2 separate regions of the Homo sapiens genome follow, and region 1 is linked to region 2. The links are contacts of gene promoters, found by promoter capture Hi-C in blood cells and fetal thymus (Javierre and others, 2016). All regions are on one chromosome and are shown on one strand. Each heading gives the region's core, a stretch centred on a gene start or on the middle of the fragment in contact. The rest is flanking DNA. Distances are from core to core; before and after follow the strand shown. Region 1 has its middle 55 kb from the start of EYA4. Region 2 holds the start of TCF21 (transcription factor 21).

Region 1 (4,211 bases), core at 953-3,452, 700 kb after region 2:
AAACCGACCATAACTGTGTTTGAGTCTGCGCTTATGAATAGTTAGGTTTTAGTAGTGGAAATTGTGGTTTAGATATGCATTCTTTCATTTCTTGACTTTTAGACAAGCATTATATGAAACACTGAGGATGTAAAGATGACAAGGCAATTCTACCTTCAAGAAGATTACAATTTAGTTGGAAACAAAGAGATATGCAGTAAACACATAAATAAAACTTGCAAGTGCAATGATTAGGTATGGTAGGGGAATTAGAATGTGTAGAAGAAGGTCACCTGACCTAGGCAGGATATGGAAGACATGGCAAAGTTGAGGGGAAAGAGGGATAGGTTCAGATTTGGGCAGAGAAGTCTCTGCTGGGCCTTAGAAATTATGTAGGAGTTGGGGCAGCCAAGGGCACTCATGAGGAACAGGGAGTGAGCCAGTGGTTTGGTATTTCTCTTCTTTTGTCTTGGATTTATTTATGATAACCTGCTCTTTAACTTACATGTTATGCTTTTATTAAAGAAAACAAGAGTACTCAATATGCAGACATTCTTATATTTAAACTATCTATCAGCTATTTCACCACACGTTTTTTTTCCTCTAGTTCTGAATTCAGCATTATTTCTAACACTGTGATACTTTATGAACATTGCTCAAAAACAAATTTTACCACTGTAAGTCATATATTTTCCAAATACCCATCTACACTTCAGACATCATCCTTAGATTTTCATCTATGACCAAATCTGGAGAGATTTTAGCTCATGTATGAGAAAAAGAAAGAAAATAGAAACAAAAACTGTTTAGTAAAATGAAAACCCACCCCCACCCCCAACACGCAAAGAACACACAGAAAGAAACCTTATACAGAAATGCAATTTGTTAGGAGCTAACGTTATTAGCCACCACTGAGATAAGCAAAATTGATCTCAGACACAGAAAAGGAGGGGGAATAGTTTTTTCAGTGTTTTCTAATTGAATTTTAATATTTGATAATAGCAAACATTTTGTTTTGATGAAGCCAAATTGTTCACTAGTCTTAAGATTACAAATTAATTACATTTAGGATTACAATAAAGAAGAATGCCTACCAAGTAGAAGCAATAAAACATTCTAATGTAACTGCAGGGTTAGAATTATTATCTCATAAATAATTCATTTGTGAAATGCAATTTTTGTTCCTCTTTTAAAATATAAAATTAAAAAAGTAAGTGAAGGTCTTGTGGGTTTGTCATTGGTGTGTATTTAAAGAATAGTAATAGTTTTCTCATCTAACAGAAATGAAATCTGCTAATGTTGGGATATCTGGATTTTTTAGATTATGTTGTCTTTTATTTGAAAAGAAACTTAAGCTATAAAACACAAGAGAAAGTGCTTAAGTACCTTCACACATATTCTTTTCAGTAAAATAATGTCAGCCATCAAAAGCCGTTTCAAGTGCAATCCGTACAGTAATAGTTAACTAGATAAGTTCAAGTTGGCAGTTCTTGCAGTGAGTTCAGCTTCCAACTGTATTACCATTCCTCATTTCTTTGTTAGTTGTAATAGTAGGTTGCCAGGTTTTTTTCTTTCAAAAGCTTATAAAATTCATAGTTAAGAGGCAGGTCTATGAAAATTTAAAACCAAAGGAGAAGATGAATTCAAAAGCAGCTGCTTATGGAGTTTTATTGCAATATTTCACTGCAAGCCATGATGTCTTCACAGCAGCTTCATACTTAAAAGATTCTGAAAGTTGATTGATTGTTTCCAAACTGCTACATAGTTTTATTTGATTAACCATGTATATTTTTGCCAATATGTCTGGCTACCTATTTAAAGTTAGTGCATGGCTGGCAGTATTACAAAAACAGATTTTAAGGATTGGAATCAGATTTGGCAGTAAAGGATTTGGTTCCAAACTCATAGGTGATCTTAAAATTTCATTTGACATAAAAAGAAAAACTTTTCCAGTCAAAAACAAAAGATTCTACTTTCATTGAAAAAAAGCTTCTTGGCTGCCAAATATGTTTATTTTTCTTATGTATTTGCTCTATCACTGATTCCTCGGAAGAAAGAACCTCAAGTGATACTATTTTAAAATATACGCACATACACACAAAAAATTTAATCAAGATCTTTAGATGTGAAGTAAAAAGCTTACTCCTTTAAAGTAAAGAAAAAAAAAAAGACATCTTTTCAAAAGTTCATTGCAATAAAAGAATCTTTTGTCCTTCCTCTTGGCATTTTAAGGTTTTAACGAGTTGTTTATATATCTCAATGGCTTGAAAAGACAGATGTATTTTATGTAATCTTCCATGTAAGCTTTTTTCATTTCCCTTATAAATTACTTTTCCATATTTTAAAATGTAGTTGTGTTTTCAAGGAAAAAATGGCCAAAAAATATGAGCCGTTATTTGTTGGCCACCACGAACCTTTAGATAAAGTAGGTATAAATCACAGTAAGCAATAAAATTTCATCCTAACTATAAACCACAACTTTATTGAAGAAATGTCTATTAAACTTGTGTTGTCTCATTTTCATTTTACCTGAACATTAATGTATGAGTTTCATTTGAAAGCTAACAGTTAACAACCCATGTTTCATATTCTAATTAACATAAGGGACATCTGTTTCAATTAGAGAAAGCAAACTTCCTAAAGATTCTATGATGAACTGCTTTTATCCTCTGTGAGCTAGGGAAGTGGATTATATATAACACATGAAGAAATAAAAAACAGTAAAGAGCAAAGATGCCAAGCCCCTGAAATATATAATTGAATAATAATAATTGAAGTACACACGTCAAGTTGTGTGTGTAGCAAGTTCAACCCACAGAAGCACAGACCTAATGAAATGGTTTCTTGATTTTTAATCTCCATAAACCTTTCCTCCTGCCTTTAACTCTTATAGGTTTGAATACAAATCAAACATAGACCTTAACTTCATCTGAAGAAGCTGGAGTCCAAAAAACAAACAGAAAACAAAACAACTTCTGCAATGGTTTAAGCAGACTAACAAACGTGTGCTTTGATGGATGATTAAAAAGCCCTCAAAGTTAAAGGGGCACAGCTGAGTACATGGCCTACCTTAATATTGCTGTAGTGAGTAATGAGATGCCTCTGGCTTATAAGTACCTAATTGTAATGAAATAATCCAGCCCAATCTTTAAAATTAAGGTAAAGTAAATTCTATTATTTGTGGTATACATAAAAAAGCAATGCGAGAGCTCCCCCTATTGACCCACAATAAAGTATAATGTACCCTGAAATATACTTCCAAATATACATAAACAATATAAAATTTCAGAAGTTTAAGGGATTTTTTTTTTTTAAAGATTGAGTTCATCAGTTTATCTTTGTAGAATCTGAGGCCTAACAACATTTATTGTCATGGGACAAATTAGAGTGGCAGGTTTGTCTCTGCACTGTTTTCTCTGTATTATAGTTTGACATCATACAGTTTGTATAATTCAGAAGTAGGAAAGGGCTAAAGAGACCCCGTTGACCTAACTCCAACTATCTCTGGTCAAATGGACCCAGAGATGCTAAGGGATCTGTATAGGTTTATGGCTTTTTACTAATAGTTGGGAATCAGAATTCCAGTTATATGTTATCTTTCTATTATTTCTGCTCTGGCAGTGTGTTTTGTTTTGAGCCCGACATTTTTATGTTCTTTTTGTAATTTAAGAACATGTTGTTCAAAAATATAAGAATTTGAAGTTCTGGAAAACAAGAGGACATTCGTGGTCAGTAAATTAACTATTCTTCGCCTTCTGATGACACATATTTTTTGTAAACTAACTAGCAAATGCATATTGATAGGGTCTTTATATTTTCATACATGCCCTCAGCTATTAAAATATTTATATGATATGTGTAATTGCTGAAAATGGTAACCTGCTCCTATTATGAAATCACAAAAAACATGAAATATATTTCTCTGATGTGCTTTCTGGTGAAAATATTTATTGGTCACTAATTTGTTAGTATTTATTGGTAATTAATTGGTCAGCATTTATATTAACACTACCATTCCTGTAATTAACCATGAGATGTTATTGATTATATTTATGACATGAACAGGGTTTTTCTCCCTATACTTGAAGGTATGTGAAGATATGTGTGAAGGTATGTGAAGTATGTATGAGTTCAATTAGTATGTTAACTCCTAGAGGGCAAGGGTTATTTTGTGCATCTATTTTTACGCATCTTTTTTTTCAAAGAACACAGATGCAATGAACACAGGGCTT
Region 2 (3,662 bases), core at 891-3,390:
GCCCTGTCGCTTTCATCGCCTTTCATCACCATCTATTTCCCTAGTCCGACTTTCGTTTCTTCCATCGCAAACACCGGCTTTGACTACAGCTTCTAGATTAATCACCACCTCTTAAGGAAAAAAAAATGCTATACTACATTGACTTTTAATTTAAGATCGTCTTCATGCTGGACTGAGAAAGTATGCTTTCTCTTCCTTTCTCCGGGCTGTTTTATAATAAAGCTCATTTAAGTTTCTTATTCAAAGATGAAGAGAGTAGCAGTTGTAAATATTCGAGGCAACACTTTCATTTTAGGTGGAGATTTTAAAAAGCTATTTACTCATTGGGGGGGAAAAACCCCAAACTTTCAATTGGAGAGAAAACATTTTTCATGGTAAAATGTGGGTTTGCATCTTCTTCTCCAGCAATTCCAGAAACCAATTCGGTGAGAAGACAATTCAGACCCCTCTCACTACTGCTCTAGTGCTAGCTGATAAGACTTGCCTTTTAAAAGGAAAAATCTCTCATTCTTATCATATACAAACAGAGATCCTAGTAAGTTGTTGTTATTGTTTTTCTTTAGATCTTAGAAGTTTTAAAATAAAATCAAATGAAAAAAATTAAGATATATTTCTTAAACAGTAAAATACATTTGAGAAAAAAGTAGACTCAATGATTATCAGTTTTTTGTGTTAAAAAATTAGGCTCAATGGGCATTACTTTTTAAGATAAAAGGTAACATTTCTTAAATCTTGGGTGAGAGTGACCTATTTTAGTATTTATTACACTCATACTAGTGAGGATTTACTGATTTTGCTGATCATTACTAGAACTTCTGGGATTTAAAAATATTAATCCACTTATAGGAGAAGCACAGAATATTTAAGCGGTTAAGGGCTTACGTGGACAATTTGGGGGGCATAGATGTGTCCTTATCCAATGGTCCTAAATATGCTTGTGAAAGAAACGGAGTTGGGTGTTTTTATTTACAAGGAAAGGAAAATCAAGTTCCACTCTCTGCTAAAAGAAGAAAAAAGGATTAACAAAATGCCTGTCCGCTCGCAGCGTCTTGTCAGTGTTCTCAGTTCCGCAGCAGCCACTGCACCCCAGGGAGGATGGCGATGGAGCGGGAGCGGGGGATCCCTCCTCTGTGCCAGCTCAACACACTTGCAAACTTTTAATTGGGCTGCCACGTCAAACCCTCGCATAAATCACTCCCGCTCCGGGGGCTGGTAGGGCAGAGAGCGAGGGCCGTGTCTAGACCGCCCGCCTCCGGTCCCTGGAGGCTCTAGGCCCGCGGTGGTCGAGATGTGTAAGTCACCGCCGCGCCCACACCCCCACTCCCAGCCCCGCGCGCACTCGCGCCCACCGCAGGCGGGAGTGCGGGCGCGCCTGGACTGCAGCTGCAGCCCCGGGAGCACTCACCAGGTTGACCGGGTGAATGTACCCGTTCTCGTATTTGTCGTTAGCCAGGATCTGCCTCAAGTGGGCGATGTAGCTGGACGCCAGCCTGAGCGTGTCCAGCTTGGAGAGCTTGGTGTCGGGGGGCACCCAGGGCAGGGTGGTCTTGAGTCTGGAGAAGGCCTTGCTCAGCACTCGCATGCGGGCCCGCTCTCGCGCGTTGGCGGCGTTGCGCTGGACCTGCTTCCCCTCCTGGCTGACCCCGCTCAGGGGGCTCTTCTTGGTGGGCGCCTTCCTCCTCTTGCCCAGGCCGCCGCGGCCCTTCTGGGGAGACCCATTCTCGCAGTTGGAGCTCTCCTCGGTGCTCTCGTTGGAAGTCACAAATTCCTTGTTCGAATCCATTTTCAACCCGTCACATTCCAACATCTCCACCTCTTGAAGGTCCTCCACATCGCTGAGGGAGCCGGTGGACATGTTTGGGGGAGTGGACGAGGGAGAGAGAGAGAGAGAGACAGAGAGACAGAGAAAGCGAGGAAGAGGGTGAGAGAGAGACAGAGAGACCCTGAAACCAAGAGGCCTCCCGAGTGTGGCGCAGCCACCTCCTGCTGGGAGCTGGAGTTGGGGTCTGGTTGGGTCTCACAACCCTTTCCCCTTCGCAGAGTTGTGAGAAGGAACCCCGAGGACTTCTGCAGCAGAGGAACCGGCTCTCTGTTTCCCCACTCCCAGAGTCGTGGCCGTAGAGGAGGGTGAGCGAGCGCTGAGGAATTTGGTGGACACTAGGAATTTATCTGGGGAATAGAGGGGCGGATCCTTGCAGCCCAGGGAGGGGCCTGCCAGGCCCCAGCAAAGCGCTTAGACCCCTTTCACAACCGGAGGGAAACTCAATGCACAGACCCTGATTTGCAACTTGTAATGTAAATCAACTCAACTGCATCATGTACTTACCAGCCACCTTCTCCCAACTGTGGCCGGGGCCGAGAAGCAGCATGTTCTGTCCATCTGTAAAAGGCCTTCTTTCTCTCTTAAGACGTCACAACTGGTTGTTACTGAGAACTTTAGAAAAACGACTAGATCGTTTGGCTCTTTCTGGGCCTTCCACCTACACTCCATGCCCTCTCTCCTCCCAAGAAAACACGAATTAAAATACAGGGAGTATCAACCGCATCCTGCCAACACCTCATAAGACTCCAAGGCTTTACCGAGATCTTCCACCTTCCCCGGGATAAATGAAGACAAGTGCTTCCTAGAATCTTTATGGTGATGGAAAAGTAAGTATAAAACATTTCACCTACACCTGGTCATTTTCAAGACATCAAAGGACTGCCTACGTGTACACAAACATACTTGATTTGCACACTCAAACCCAACCACACACAGCTTAGTGGGAGTGGGTAGGGAATGAGAGGGCAGTATGAGTGTGTGGAAAACATTATGTTAGTTGATCATCTTTTCCTAATAAATGGAAACTTTCCCCTCGGTTTTTTTTTCTTTTCTAGAAATGCATTTAATATTGCCTTGAGAGTCTTTGTTGCTCTCAGACATCACCTTGCCTGGCACTTTTTGTGATGCACCGTCCCTTTCAATGCTGCTGTCTTTGTCTTCTTCCAGCCTGTTAGGTGCCAGTGTTCCTCACATGAAGCTGACATTACACAACACAAAGCAAGACTATCCTTTTGAGAAAGGTTCTTTTCCATCTTTAACCCCAGCTCGAACCACCTTTCCTAGAGAATAAGAAAGTCTCCTGGGAAGTAGGTAGAAAAAGCACAGGGAAACAGAACCTAGGGATTGGATGAAATTGGTGCAATGAAACCAGGGAGACTGAAGGCATAAATCTCTCTTACAATTTCTTTGCCAGGTTTTCTTCCCTTGCAGGTAGGCATTGAAGTTGAGGGGCTGGAGCAAAATGTAAGAGTGGTTTCTGAGTGGTTGGCTTAGGGTCTGAAGGCTTCTCCTACATTAAGATATCATATCTCTAATCCTAGGCTCAGCTGGGAATTCACTAACCTCTAACGTTTTGTTTTGCTAGCAGGGTCTTGTTTGCTTTCCCCCTATGCTGTAAACTAAACAGGTTGTCAGCAAATCAGTCTTTATTAATGAATTAGCGACCCCTCTTCCATAATATCTTCGCTGAGGATCCAAAATTTGTTAATCACCAGTGTAGAGATTTATGAGCTCTCTTATTTTCTGTTGTTTGTGCAGGTGGAGATTTAAATGACCACATCCACCCTAAGATTTATTGTGAGAATGATTGATGTTATAAACCAGGAAAAGGACTCTTCCC

What was found. The method cuts DNA at HindIII sites, captures the fragments that hold promoters and counts their contacts. A CHiCAGO score of 5 or more calls a contact.
Region 1: a contact is called between a fragment that was not itself captured here and the fragment with the promoter of TCF21 in region 2, in 1 of 17 cell types (M1 macrophages). The highest score is 5.0, in M1 macrophages.

The regions. Positions count from the first base shown.
Region 1 is chr6:133,183,983-133,188,193 of GRCh38, reverse strand. No RefSeq gene overlaps it. Among named protein-coding and RNA genes, the nearest start is that of EYA4, 55 kb to the left of the region's middle. The HindIII fragment of the contact is 166 bases long and covers 2,120-2,285 here.
Region 2 is chr6:133,887,591-133,891,252 of GRCh38, reverse strand. It overlaps TCF21 (transcription factor 21), which reads right to left and starts at 2,140. Exons shown (of 2, transcript NM_003206.4): 1 at 1,406-2,140. The coding sequence starts at 1,855. It overlaps TARID (TCF21 antisense RNA inducing promoter demethylation), which reads left to right and starts at 2,247. Exons shown (of 9, transcript NR_109982.1): 1 at 2,247-2,649. RefSeq lists enhancers at 1-427, 1,679-2,592. The HindIII fragment of the contact is 7,636 bases long and covers 1-3,662 here.